3 separate regions of the Homo sapiens genome follow, and regions 2 and 3 are each linked to region 1. The links are contacts of gene promoters, found by promoter capture Hi-C in blood cells and fetal thymus (Javierre and others, 2016). All regions are on one chromosome and are shown on one strand. The core of a region is centred on a gene start or on the middle of the fragment in contact, and the rest is flanking DNA. Distances in the headings are between cores, read along the strand shown. Region 1 holds the start of LINC01977 (long intergenic non-protein coding RNA 1977). Region 2 overlaps BAHCC1 (BAH domain and coiled-coil containing 1). Region 3 has its middle 4.4 kb from the start of RENO1.

Evidence for each region. The method cuts DNA at HindIII sites, captures the fragments that hold promoters and counts their contacts. A CHiCAGO score of 5 or more calls a contact.
Region 2: a contact is called between a fragment that was not itself captured here and the fragment with the promoter of LINC01977 in region 1, in 2 of 17 cell types (total B cells and naive B cells). The highest score is 5.8, in total B cells.
Region 3: a contact is called between a fragment that was not itself captured here and the fragment with the promoter of LINC01977 in region 1, in 1 of 17 cell types (total B cells). The highest score is 5.4, in total B cells.

Annotation. Positions count from the first base shown.
Region 1 is chr17:79,821,310-79,825,813 of GRCh38, reverse strand. It overlaps LINC01977 (long intergenic non-protein coding RNA 1977), which reads right to left and starts at 2,362. Exons shown (of 3, transcript NR_146504.1): 1 at 2,276-2,362; 2 at 1,940-2,019. The HindIII fragment of the contact is 24,167 bases long and covers 1-4,504 here.
Region 2 is chr17:81,401,871-81,406,374 of GRCh38, reverse strand. The region is part of intron 2 of BAHCC1 (BAH domain and coiled-coil containing 1); the gene reads right to left. Among named protein-coding and RNA genes, the nearest start is that of MIR4740, 3.3 kb to the right of the region's middle. RefSeq lists enhancers at 233-787, 3,579-4,104, 4,404-4,504. The HindIII fragment of the contact is 5,924 bases long and covers 1-4,504 here.
Region 3 is chr17:81,348,120-81,352,623 of GRCh38, reverse strand. No RefSeq gene overlaps it. Among named protein-coding and RNA genes, the nearest start is that of RENO1, 4.4 kb to the right of the region's middle. RefSeq lists an enhancer at 3,686-4,323. The HindIII fragment of the contact is 1,209 bases long and covers 1,799-3,007 here.

The DNA of each region.
Region 1 (4,504 bases), core at 1,113-3,612:
TGTTCCATAGACTAAGATGAAAACAAATGTTTGCAGAGGAACCAGAAGGGCGGAAGTCCCAGGGGTTGGTCCAGGAGGGAAACACACACAAACATACCAAATCATCATCATAACCAAGACCAGGGACGGCGCAGGGTCAGCTCCACGGGGAGTGTAAGTCATCTGCCCCTCCCAGAGGAAAGGGTTGGCCCATTGATGGTGGAGTGATAGCTCCTGGAAGCTCAGAACAGAGAGGGACCAGGGGGTTTCTATTCCAAGCCCTTTGTTCTACAATGGGGAAAGTGAGGCCCCAAAGACAAAAGTCAACATCAAGGTGAATGATTGACATCATCACCTTGGCAATGATGATGTCATTGCCAAGACATCATCGTTGGGCAAGAGAGACCATTCTTTGCCCACAAGTGGATATCTGAGTTCCAGTCAGGAACAGTGTTTACCTGTCTACCAGCTATAAAATTAGGTATAGTAATAGGAATGATGATAACATAATTCAAAGTTCAATGCCGAAGCAGTGAGTGAGTGGTCAAGTGTGGCTGTTAGAGGGCCGTGGTCTGGCTTCCATTCTCCAGACTGTGGTTTGGGGCCTAACCCAGAAAGATGTGAGGGTCTGGTCTTCCTCCAATCCGGTGACCACCAAGTGGAGAGGAAGGCTGCTGTGGGCCCCGTCCTTCAAAGGGTGAGAAACCTGCTAACCTCAGAGCTGGGAGTTGACTCTGCCTTGGCAGGCAGACAGACAGTATTTGCTCAGCTGTAGCCAAACCACAGCGAACCTCAGCCCTAGGTCCACAGGGGAGTAGGGGTCTGTGTGCCCTCCTGTGCAAGAGGACCTATGGGTGGGCAGAAGGCAGTTAGATGGCAGGGAGAGGAGCTTTCCTATGGAATGCTTGGTCCTGAAGCCAGCCCTTTCTCCTGGGCCTGGAGATGAGTTCCTGGATGAGTCTCGCCTAGGGTAGAGTATGAGGCCTCCAAGGTCCAGCTCCGCAGAGGGAACTCTCCTCACTTCCATTTTAATCCTCTTAGGAAAGAAGTGAGAACCAGAGGGTGCACCTTGCAGTCTTTAGCTGTAGGTTAACCTGGTGGTTGATCCATGTGGCACTTGCAGTCATGGACATTTCAGTGTTTTGGAGAGAGAATAAGAAAGGGATGAGACAGGGATAAAATCAAGGGAGAAGGCGGCAGCAGGGAGAGAGGAAACCAAGAGAAGAGCAGAGATAAAGACAGAGACAGAAACAGAGGTCAGGAAGCCAAAGGGTCGGGGACCAAACACCAGAGAAACATCATAACAGAAACAGACAGAAGCAGGCGAGGAGCACCCAGGATGACCGGGGTGCCCAGGACAACGACGAGGAAGACACAAAGGCCCAGAGGAGGCGGGAAATGGTGCGAATCAAAAACACCGCACTGGGCAGCCATAAAAAAGAACGACGTGGGCCAGGTGCGGCGGCTCACGCCTGTAATCCCCATACTTTGGGAGGCTGAGGCGGGAGGATCACCTGAGACCAGGAGTTCGAAATCAGCCTGGCCAACATGATGAAACCCCATCTCTACTAAAATTACAAAATTAGGCCAGGCGCGGTGGCTCACGCCTGTAATCCCAGCACTCTGGGAGGCCGAGGCGGGCGATCACGAGGTCAGGAGATCGAGACCATCCTGGCTAACACGGTGAAACCCCATCTCTACTAAAAATACAAAAAATGAGCCTGGTGTGGTGGCGGGTGCCTGTAGTCCCAGCTACTTGGGAGGCTGGGGCAGGACAATGGTGTGAACCCGGGAGGCGGAGCTTGCAGTGAGCCGAGATGGCGCCACTGAACTCCAGCCTGGGCGACACAGCGAGACTCCATCTCACAAAAAAAAAAAAAAAAAATTACAAAAATTAGCCAGGCGTGTTGGTGTGCACCTGTAGTCACAGCTTTTCAGGAGGCCGAGGCACGAGAATCACCTGAATCCTGGAGACAGAGGTTGCAGTGAGCCAAGATTGTGCCACTGTGCTCTAGCCTGGGTGACAGATTGAAACTCCATCTAAAAAAAAAAAAAGAAAGAAAGAGATCACGTCCTTTGCAGGGACATGGATGGAGCTGGAGGCCATTGTCCTCAGCAAACTAACGCAGGAACAGAAAACCAAACACCACATGTTCTTACTTATAAGTGGGAGTTAAATGATGAGAACACATGGACACATAGAAAGGAACAACACACACGGAAGTCTTTTGGAGGGTGGAGGGTGGGAGGAAGGAGAGGATCAAGAAAAACAGCTAATGGGTACTAGGTTTAATACCTGGGTGAGGCTGGGCACGGTGGCTGAAGCCTGTAATCCCAGCACTCTGGAAGGCTGAGGCGGGCGGATCACGAGGTCAGGAGATCGAGACCATCCTGGCTAACACGATGAAACCCTGTCTCTACTAAAAATACAAAAAATTAGCTGGGCATGGTGGCGTGCGCCTGTAGTCCCAGCTACACGAGAGGCTGAGGCAGGAGAATGGCGTGAACCCGGGAGGCAGAGCTTGCAGTGAGTGGAGATCGGGCCACTGCACTCCAGCCTGGGCAACAGAGCGAGACTCCGTCTCAAAAAAGAAAAAAAAAATACCTGGGTGATGAAATAATTTATGCCACAAACCTCCACGCCGCAAGTTTACCTACGTAACAAACCTGCACTTGTACCCCTGAACTTAAAATAAAAGTTAAAAAAAAATCACATTGGAAGGATCAAAGCCAGTGTTACCAATCATGGGCCAAACTGCCATCGTGGGCCTCCCAACACTGAGAAGCCGCACCCAGAAGTCCGTAGTGTCATTCCAGCGGTTTTCCCGCCAGAACGCAGCGCCCGAATCCAACCACGAAGAAATCCCAGATGCGTACTCTTCAGAAGCCAAGGTGAAAGAACACAGAGAGAGGCCAAGGTCCTGCCCAGCGCAAAGGAGACCAGAGGGAGAGGGCGCAGAATGAGCGCAGGATCCTTTGCTCTTGGAACAGAAAAGAGAAGTGAGTTATAAAGAGCATTATTGAGGAGACTGAGAAAACGGCATCTGGACTGTGGGTTAGACAACAGTATTGGATTGATGTTAAACATCCTGATTCTGGCCATTGCACTGTGGTTGTTGTGTAAGATCTTGTCCTTGATCTCAGGGAAAACACACTACCCCAAAGTATGCAGGCAGAAAGGGCACAAGGTCTCCAATGGACTCTCAAATGGTTCAGAAAAAAATATGTGGGAAGGCCGGACGCGGTGGCTCACACCTGTCATCCCAGCATATTGGGAGGCTGAGGCAGGCGGATCACCTGAGGTCAGGAGCTTGAGACCAGCCTGGCCAACATGGTGAAACCTCGTCTCTACTAAAAATACAAAAAATTAGCCGGGCGTGGTGGCCGGTGCCTATAATCCCAGCTACTTGGGAGGCTGAGGCAGGAGAATTGCTTGAACCCGGGAGGTGGTGGTTGCAATGAGCCGAGATCGCGCCTGGGTAACAAGAGGGAGACTCCATCTCAAAACAAACACAAACACACACACACACACACACACACACACACACACACACACACACACACAGAATAGAGAGAGCACCAATGACAAAGCAGATGGGCAAATGTCAACAACTGGTAAATCTAGATAAAAAATATAGGCAAGTTCCTTTACTCATCTTGCAGCTTCTCTGTAAGTTGGCCAAAAATGCTGAGCTGAGATTTAAAATAGGTTCTTCGGAGTGCCTCCTTGGGGCTGGGGATAGGCGCTGGCCCTGGAGCCTCACGGCAGGCCTGGGAAGGACCGCAAGTGCCTCCCTACCTGGGCCAAGCGGAGAGTCCCAAACTGCTGCGGCTGTGAATGGCCTGGGTGGGTCGTCTGCCTGCGCATGCATTTTCAGATCCTTCACCCCATGTCCTCAACACAAATGAACAGGATTCTGGGAGGGTGAGGACACTGGCACCAGGGCCCTGTACCAGGAGGCTCCTGGCCACCTCCAGCTCAGCCTGGCCCCTCCCACTGCACAGCTTAGCCCCACCTTTGGCCAACCACAATTCTTTGGCCAAGTGGGAAAGCAGGATGTGGCAGAAAGAGCAAGGATTAGGGGTTCAGGCAAGACCAGTCGTGGGTACCAGCTGCTCTGCATTTCCTAGCTCTGTGCCCTGGCACTGATGGCTCTGCCCCCAGACCTGCCCAAGGCCAGCTCATTGTTACCATTTAGTCCCCTAAATGCCACCTCTCAAGAGAAGCCGTCCCCAACCACCGGCCTAAAGTGGACTGCATCTCACTCCCCAGTTGTTCTTCTTAGAGCAGCTGTTCTTATCTGAAATTATTGATCTGTTGACTTGTCTCCTGCCCCCACTAGAATGTAAACACCGTGAGAGCAAGCCCTTGTCCCTCTTACCCATCACCCTGTTCTCAGCTCCTAGAACCGGTCAGCTGCTCCAGGGCTATTTGCTAAAGGAAGGGAGGAAGAAAGGAAAGGGAAAAATGATGTAGGAGGGAAGGAGAAGGAAGTGGAGAGAAGGGGAAGGGAGGAAAGAAGGA
Region 2 (4,504 bases), core at 663-3,162, 1.6 Mb before region 1:
GGGGGCTGGGAGGGGGAATGCAGAGCAAGTAACCCACCTACCCAACAGACAGGGGCGTGCTCTGAGTCCAAGCCCATTCACAGCACGTCTGCGAGGTGGGGGACACAAGGGGAGGCCATCTCCCCTCAAGGAGGCTGTCCAGGAGCCAAGGGTTTCGGACCCTCCCCTGGACAGGCCAGGACGAGCCTGCCTCCCTCCTCAGGGGAACAAGGCAGTGCCTGTCTTGAGGGAGGGCTTCTTTTTGGAAACCTCTCATTCAGGATGAACCCATTAAGAAGGCAGGCAGCTTCTGTTGTTTGAGGGTGTCAGGAGGGCAAGGGGGCACCCCAAAGGCTGGGCGGTATTTTCTCGAGGGACTCCCTAGGCAGAGGCTGGCCCTGCTGCTACCCAGGAGGAGTCCCTGTATCGCTTCCACAGCAGCTGATGGGCAACCAGGCCCCTCTGAGAAGACCACTCCAAAAGAGGGCATATGCCATGTACTGAGCTCAGGGGGTTGGGGGAGACTCTCCGGTGGGGCGTTGGCCAGGACAATCACAGTAGCTGCCTCACAGGATCCAGAGGGCAGAGGACAGAGGACAGGTCCCATTTGTTATGGGCCTATATTCAGGTATTTATGGTAGGGAGGAAGCCAGACCGGGGGGCCCAGAAGCCTCTTCCAGAAGGAAGGGCAGGGGGGCACGATGGAGCAAGGCTTTCTTCCACCAGGAAAGTATTTATTCCCAGCGGCACTGGCTGAACTCTATCTGTGCTTGGGAATTCCCAGCCCAGGGACATGGACAGTCTCGGGCTCAGACCCTGGAGCTAGATCAGGGTATTCTGGGAAATATAGTCCTTTGGGAGTTAGAAGGCCCTGCCAGGATTGGGGGCGGGGGAGGCAGATTGAGTTAAGAAACAGCCAAGGAAGAGGAGGGAGTAAAGGGAGTTACCCTTACTCCAACCCCAGGGTGGATGTTTAAAACTCCTGGGAAGTGGCTATATATAAACATCTGCTGCCTCAAAAGACACCAGAGGCCGGGCACGGTGGCTCACACCTGTAATCCTAGCACTTTGGGAGGCCAAGGTGGGCAGATTGCTTGAGCTCAGGAGCTCAAGACCAGCATGGGAAACATGGTGAAACCCCGTCTCTACTAAAAATACAAAAAATTAGGGCGTGGTGGTACATGCCTGTAATCCCAGCTACTTGGGAGACTGAGGCACGACAATGGCTTGAACCAGGGAGGCAGAGGTTGCAGTGAGGCAGTGAGCCAAGATTGTGCCACTGCACTCCAGCCTGGCAGACAGAGCCAGACTGTCTCAAAAAACAAAAACAAAACAAAAACAAAAACAAAACACACCAGACGATGCTACTATTCTAGCTTCAGATCATATCCACAGTGGCTTTTCTGGTCAAGTAGTTCTGGGGACTCTTATTTTCGTGGGGAGACCTAAAAAGTCCGCAGAGAGGAGGCACCCCAACCAAACCACCCAGGATGAAAGCAGCATTCAGTGATTCCCCACGACTGTTCTCCGGTCCCTGCCTCCAGACACACAGAGAGAAGGAGAACAAAGGTGCCCGCCAGGGGACAGAGGTGCTACCTGCCACGCCTCAGCCTCCAGGAGAGACTGCAGCTGTCCCAAGCGCTCGCACATTATTTATGCTCACAGCCAGCTCTGATGACATATGTAAGTTGACAGCGAACATCCTATCAACTTGCTGGAGTGTATCCTGATTGTTAAAACACTCTTAAAGGTGTACAATCATTTATCAAATTAAAATAGCCGTGCCTTGCCAGTTCTTTTTCTGCCTTCCTGGATGGAACCCCCAATAGTCTCCATCCTCCTCCAGCCTCCTGGGTAATCTGCCCTTGCACCCAGGCCCTGCTTCTCAGGGGACAATGACCCTGCTGCCAGGAGCCCCAGCCTCGGCATCCCCTCCCCACTCTGGCCCAGGCCAGGGCAAGACCACTAATCGCCAAGAAGTGACAAACGCCAGAAGCCCCACCAATTAAATTTAAACTCATGCAAAGCTCAGTGGCTAGTAAATTATTATTTTTATTAGCTTGAACCAAGTTCCCGTAAGAGAGAAAGTCAACTTGCTCCCATGAATGGCTCTTGTATAATTTATTTAACTCTGTGCTCTTTGCCAAAGCCTGGAATATTTTTAGCTCGTTCTGTTGTTGGATTTGGCTTTTTTATGTGTGTTTCTGAGGGGTATTTTTAGCCTCATCCATGTTATTCTAACAGCCTCCTATGCATTTTGTCCTGTCTGTGGGGGCTGTTGAACCCTGTCTCACAGGGAGATGAGAGAAGATTTCTAAGAATAACCGGGGAACGTTTGGGGGGACGCGCGTTTTCCAGGGGAGATGTGCTATTTGCACAACGCCGTTCTCTGCCTGGCTCACTAATTTGCCTTATTACTCACGTGACCTGGATATTCCTACAGAAAGCGCGGCGGCTCCGTACCGGGATAATCAGACGTGGTGGCAGCACGAGCCCCACTGGGGGAAACCCACATTCCAAACAGGGCTTCGGCGGGGCGGGCGTGGCGGGCCACCGCCGCCGGTCCACGCGGCCCCACATTCCCGGATTCCCGTAGCTCCTTTGGGCTCGCGGCAACTTTGATGTCTAACTCTGTCACTTATGGAGCGGGACGGGTGACGTCTTCGGAAAGTAACTCTTTTCACACCTACTTAATGTTGCTAACTGTTGCAGAAACACTCCATCGTGTCATGGAGTTAATGAGGTATTTAAGAAAATGTATTTTTTTCTTTACAAAAAAATATCACATGATGAGGGAGAGGAGCCTGTGATGGGGTCTTTTCACACTAGGAAATTATCTTTTTTTTTCCTCTGCCAAGTTGGGGGTATTTTTTGGTTGTGTTTTTTGGTATTTTCTTTTTCTTTTTTTTTTTTTGAGATTGGCGGTAGGAAGCACTTTTTCAGCAGGAAAGAAGTAGTTTGCAGTTCTCCCACCAGAAGGAGCCTTCGCCTTTCTCCCACAATAACCCCAGGCTCAGAGCACCTGGTTTCCCAGGCTTCAGCAATTTACACCCCAAAGAAGACAAGAGAAGGGGCGGGAGGGGAATCTGAGCAGATTATTGAAACCAAGATGAGAAATAGTGCCTTGGTGGAGCCCTGGCCCCTGGAGAGGGGAGGCGTACAGACCAGGACAGGAGCGGGCCCAGCCAGAAGCCAGGACGGGGGGCTGTCTATGTGGGCCTCTCCCCAGGCCGGGGCTGCCTCGGATCACACACACACTCCCAGCAGAGGCGCCAGCCCCAGTGGCTCCAGGCAGTAGCACTGATGAAAAATCTTGGGTTGGTTCTTGTTGATTTCTCTTTTCTCCCCCCTAGATTTCACAGCTTTGCCTCCGGACCATCTGTATTAGAGACAAAATCTAACACTGAACTAAAAATAATGATTCCAAACATTTTAATTGCACCTTTTGGTGACAAGGTTACTGGAACAGCACTTTACCATAAAACCTGCGGCCCGAGTCTAAAGCTCCCAGCACTTTCATTTTTAGAAAAACAATGGAAGAAGCCTGGGAGCCCCATGTCCCCACCCATCAGGGCCCCTCAGACTGACATTCTGAAAGTGTTGGGTGGGGTTGGGGAAAGGCAGCCCCGGCAGCCAGCAGGAACAGCCTCAGTCCAGCCGGGGTGGCAGTGCCAGGCCAGACAGGCACAGGAAGAGCAGCCCAGCAAAAAGAGGCAGCCTCATGGAGGCCAGGGCCTCCATCCCCGATGGTTGGATTCTACTCCCAGACAGGCGGGAAGAATCCGGGTCAATTTTCCTTTCCAAGGGGCAGTCAGCAGAGGGAGGGGCGGGCTGGCTGCAGCTGTGGCCTGCGGACTGAAGCCATCCAGGAAAATGGGAAGCAAGGCAGCCAAACCAGCCATGTGGAAGTCCGCACACAAGACGCAAAAAAATTGTTTAACGTAATTATGCTTTTTTCTCTCTAAACTAGATCATATATAGACACAGACCAAAGCAAAGTGATCTGGGGTATAATTCTTTTTTTAAAAAAATACATGCAGCTAAATTTTAAAAACCAATACAATATTCTGGCTCTTAACAATTTCAAAAGGCTTTCTTTCAGCTACAGATGCTTCTAGCTGGATGTCTGCATGACCAAGTTGCCCATCACAAATGGGTTGAACATCTCCGAGCACAAGCGTTCTCTTCGGTCCGCAGGGGGGAGGAAATGGGGCCTCCAGGGACGGGGACACATGACCCTTCAGACCCTGAAAGAGGCAGCCCCGAGGGGCCTCCAGCGCCCTCTAGAGCACCCTGCGCTTGGGGAGGCTGGGAGGACCTGGGATCAAGAAGAAGCAGGGAGGACACAGGCCAGGCCAGAGCCCAGAGCCGTTTCTCACAGCCCTCCGGGGCCTACACGCCAAGAACCACGTGGCCAAACTTAGAATGAGCAAGACAAAGGGCTAGGCCACCCGACCAGGCGCCCACCTACCCGGGTGCTGCCTAGACCTGGAAGTAAGGGCAGAAGGGGGAGAATGCAGCTGGC
Region 3 (4,504 bases), core at 1,154-3,653, 1.5 Mb before region 1:
GCCTCCCAAAGTGCTGCGATTGAGAGGTGACAGCGTGTGGCAGTCCTCACAGCCCTCGCTCGCTGTCGGCGCCTCCTCTGCCTGGGCTCCCACTGGCGGCACTTGAGGAGCCCTTCAGCCCGCCGCTGCACTGTGGGAGCCCCTTTCTGGGCTGGCCAAGGCCGGAGCCGGCTCCCTCAGCTTGCGGGGAGGTGTGGAGGGAGAGGCGCGAGAGGGAACTGGGGCTGCGTGCGTCGCTTGCGGGCCAGCTGGAGTTCCGCGTGGGCTTGGCGGGCTCCGCACTCGGAGCAGCCGGCCGGCCCTGCCAGCCCCGGGCAATGAGGGGCTTAGCACCCGGGCCAGCGGCTGCGGAGGGTGTGCTGGGTCCCCCAACAGTGCCGGCGCACCGGCGCTGCGCTGGATTTCTCGCCAGGCCTTAGCTGCCTTCCCGTGGGGCAGAGCTGGGACCTACAGCCTGCCATGCCTGAGCCTCCCGTCCCCGCCCCGCGCCCCCCACCCGTGGGCTCCTGTGCAGCCCGAGCCTCCCCGACGAGCGCCACCCCCTGCTCCACGGCGCCCAGTCCCATCGACCACCCAGGGGCTGAGGAGCGTGGGCGCACGGCGCGGGATTGGCAGGCAGCTCCACCTGCAGCCCCAGTGCGAGATCCACTGGGTGAAGCCAGCTAGGCTCCTGAGTCTAGTGGGAACTTGAAGAACTTTATGTCTAGCTAAGGGATTGTAAATACACCAATCGGCACTCTGTATCTAGTCCAAGTTTTGTAAACACACCAATCAGCACCCTGTGTCTAGCTCAGGGTTTGTGAATGCACCAATCGACACTCTGTATCTAGCTACTCTGGTGGGGCCTTGGAGAACCTTTGTGTAGACACTCTGTATCTAGCTAATCGGGTGGGGACGTGGAGAACCTTTGTGTCTAGCTCAGGGATTGTAAACACACCAATCAGTGCCCTGTCAAAACAGACCACTGGGCTCTACCAATCAGCAGGATGTGGGTGGGGCCAGATAAGAGAATAAAAGCAGGCTGCCCGAGCCAGCAGTGCCAACCTGTTCTGGTCTGCTTACACGCTGTGGAAGCTTTGTTCTTTCGCTTTTTGCAATAAATCTTGCTACTGCTCACGCTTTGGGTCCACACTGCCTTTATGAGCTGTAACACTCACCCCGAAGGTCTGCAGCTTCACTCTTGAAGCCAGCGAGACCACGAGCCCACCGGGAGGAAGGACAACTCCAGACGCGCTGCCTTAAGAGCCGTAACACTCACCGCGAAGGTCCGCAGCTTCACTCCTGAGCCAGCGAGACCACGAACCCACCAGAAGGAAGAAACTCCGAACGCATCTGAATATCAGAAGGAACAAACTCCAGACACGCCGCCTTTAAGAACTGTAACACTCACCGTGACGGTCCACGGCTTCATTCTTGAAGTCAGTGAGACCAAGAACCCACCAATTCCAGATACAGGATTACAAGTGTGAGCCACCGTGCCCGGCCTCTATTTATTTTTTATAATTTTTGAGACAGAGTCTTACTTTGTTGTCCAGGTTGGAGTGCAATGACGCAGTCCTGGCTCACTGCAACTTCTGCCTCCCGGATTCAAGTGATTCTCCTGCCTCAGCCTCCTGAGTAGCTGGGATTACAGGCACCCGCCACCACGCCCAGCTCATTTTTGTATTTTTAGTAGGGACAGGGTTTCACCATGTTGGTCAAGCTGGTCTCAAATGCCTGACCTCAAGCAATCCACCCGCCTTGGCCTCCCAAAATGCTGGGATTACAGGCGCGAGCCACTGTGCCCAGCCCCAAAGCTTATTTTTATTTGTTCACATGAATGCAGTTTTCTTGGTTATTATTTCTGAATCTTCTTGTAAATTTTTGAATACTACCTAAAATTATGAGGAAGGAAGCAAAAATCTGAGTTCACTTCCCCAGATTCTTTTTTTAAAGAACAAAATCTCTTTTCTCTCTGAAGCTATTACTGGTGTTTTTGAACACTGTGTGTTCTGAAACTCTTGCTCAGTGCAAGTTACACAACTGTAGCAAATAGACCCCAAACGTAGCTGCCCATGCCAGCCCGCGGCTTATTTATCCCTGACCTGCCCAAGCAAGTGCTCCTGCGGGGTGGGGCCTGGTTGGGCCCCAGGCTGAAGGCTGCCCTGTCATCTTGCACATTTGTCTTCCACAGTCTCTCTGATGTGCCCATTTCAGCCATCAGAAGGGGGAACCCTAAAAGCCTCCTGGAAGGGTGACCTGCTCCTGAAACTGGTGCACACTGCTTCTGCCAGATTCTGTTGGACACCACGGTTACCCAGCCACACCTACTGCGAGGGAGCCTGGGAATGCAGACCAGCCAGGGGCCCCATGAGAAGGGGTAACGGCTTCTGTTGGACAGCCGGACGGCAGCCAGCCAGCCCTTGGCCTCCAGACATCTGTGAGACCCACCCTTCCTCCACACATCGTGTTAGAAAAAGTCACCATCATCTCCAGGGAGAAGACCCAGCCCAAAGCCTGCCTCTCTAGGATGGGCAGAGCCTTTCCGTGGGTCCCGATGACTGTCTTCCGGGTCCAACTGACAGATGATTCATTAAGCCATCTGCTCCCCTCCCCCCGCAACCTGAGCCTTCATCTGATCTTTGCCGTAGGCCTGCACACTTTTGTTGGACTGAGCTGCCTGAGTGACAGGCCTTGAACAGCCACCATCTTTTCTCCTACTGTTTGAGGCATAAACAGTGGCTTTTTCAACCTGGGAGTCCCAACTTTCTGGGGTAACTCTAATTGCAAACCGGCCCTCAATTTCTGGAAACAGTAGTCAAGCTACAGGGAATGAGTGCCTCGCGCTAACCTTCTGGCTCTTTCCTCCCTCTTCCCAGCGTTCCCAAGCCTTTACCTCGGCACACCAGGGGACGTGTGGCATCATCTTCAATTCACCACATCCGTTTCCCTGTATCCCCAAGTGCCAGGGCAGGTGTATCAGTCGGCTTTTGCCACAACAGTGCTGCATAACGACGACCTTAAAGCTTGGTGGCCGAGTCTCACGCTCACAGGGCTAGGGCCGACCTCCACCTGGCCAAGCCCCTGGCCTCCGGGTTCTGGGATGTGGGCTGGGCTGAGGTCCGCCCAGGTTTCTCGCTTCTTGGAGCCCCCGTCAGTTATCTGCGTTCTCCATTCTTCTCTGGGGCACAGCCTGCTTGTAGTGGGTCCCTGGCAAGCAGGAAGACCAGGCTGCCCTTGCTGGCACATTCCAAACCTTTGCCCATTTCAAATCTGCTACCTTCCCACTAGCCAGAGCACGTCACTCGCCAAGCCCAAAGTCAAGGGAGGAGAGCCCACCCACCACCTAGAGACCACAGCAAGCAGACGGATGTAAAATTCTGCTACGGGGGAGTGAAAAACCAATGATTAAATTGCTAATTGAATTGTAAGTTAAACTGCTCTGAGGCATAGACGCTGGTGTAAATGCCTAAACAAAAGAGAAGTGGATTTCTCTCTTGACAACCATGGCAGGGTTTCCGTTTGACAATGGCCTTGATTCTTGCAGTCACTCAGAGCCCTAGGCTGAGGGTGACTCTGCTGTCCTCAAGCGAAGCTTCCTGTGTCACCCTGGTTGTTGCCAGGCCCTGGGAAAGGAAAAGTTAATGGAGGGCCTTTTGGGCCAGTCACAGGAGAGGCACACGTCACTGCTGTCACCTCCACTGCAGGTGGCCACCTGGCCACACCCCTTGCCAGGGAACCTGGCAGATTCAGTCTAGCCCAGGCCAAGGAGGAGGGGCACCCAATCTCGCTGTACAGCGCCGGCTCTGCGCTAGTTAGTTCGCTCGTGTTAGTTCTTCAGTTTGTGGTGCGTCCTTGGGGTTGGTGATCCCAGCTTTGTGTGGGATCCCTGCTTGTCCATCAGCAGCACGTGGTCAGACACCTCAACTGTGGCTGACGGCTCAGAGCCCACGACTCCCCGCTCCCTCCAGGTGTTATTCCACAATGGGATCTCTTCTCTGTCCACTGCCTGTGCTGAGTGTACTCAGCCAAGGGTGAGGCTGCCCTCCCACAGACACCCCAGCCATCCCCCTCCCACTGTCCCAGGGCCCCTTGGCTCCTCTGGGAGCTGCCATCACCTGCCAGCAGGTTTCACTTCTGGGCACCAAGGCTGTCATTTCTTCCCTCCAGCGAGAGCAACGTCCCCACCCCCATCTCCCCAGGACTCCTCCAGATTTCTGGGCCACGGAGGGCACCCATCTTGTCCCTGCTGGTTGTAATGGACTTACAGTTTTTTTTTCTTTGTTTTTTTGGAGATGGAGTTTCACTCTCGTTGTTGCCCAGGCTGGAGTGCAATGGCGCAATCTCGGCTCACCACAGCCTCTACCTCCTGGGTTCAAGCGATTCTCCTGCCTCAGCCTCCTGAATAGTTGGGACTACAGGCATTCGCCACCAAGGCTGGCTAATTTTGTATTTTTAGTAGAGATGGGGTTTCTCCATGTTGGTCAGGCTGGTCCTGAACTCCTGACCTCAGGTGATCTGCCTG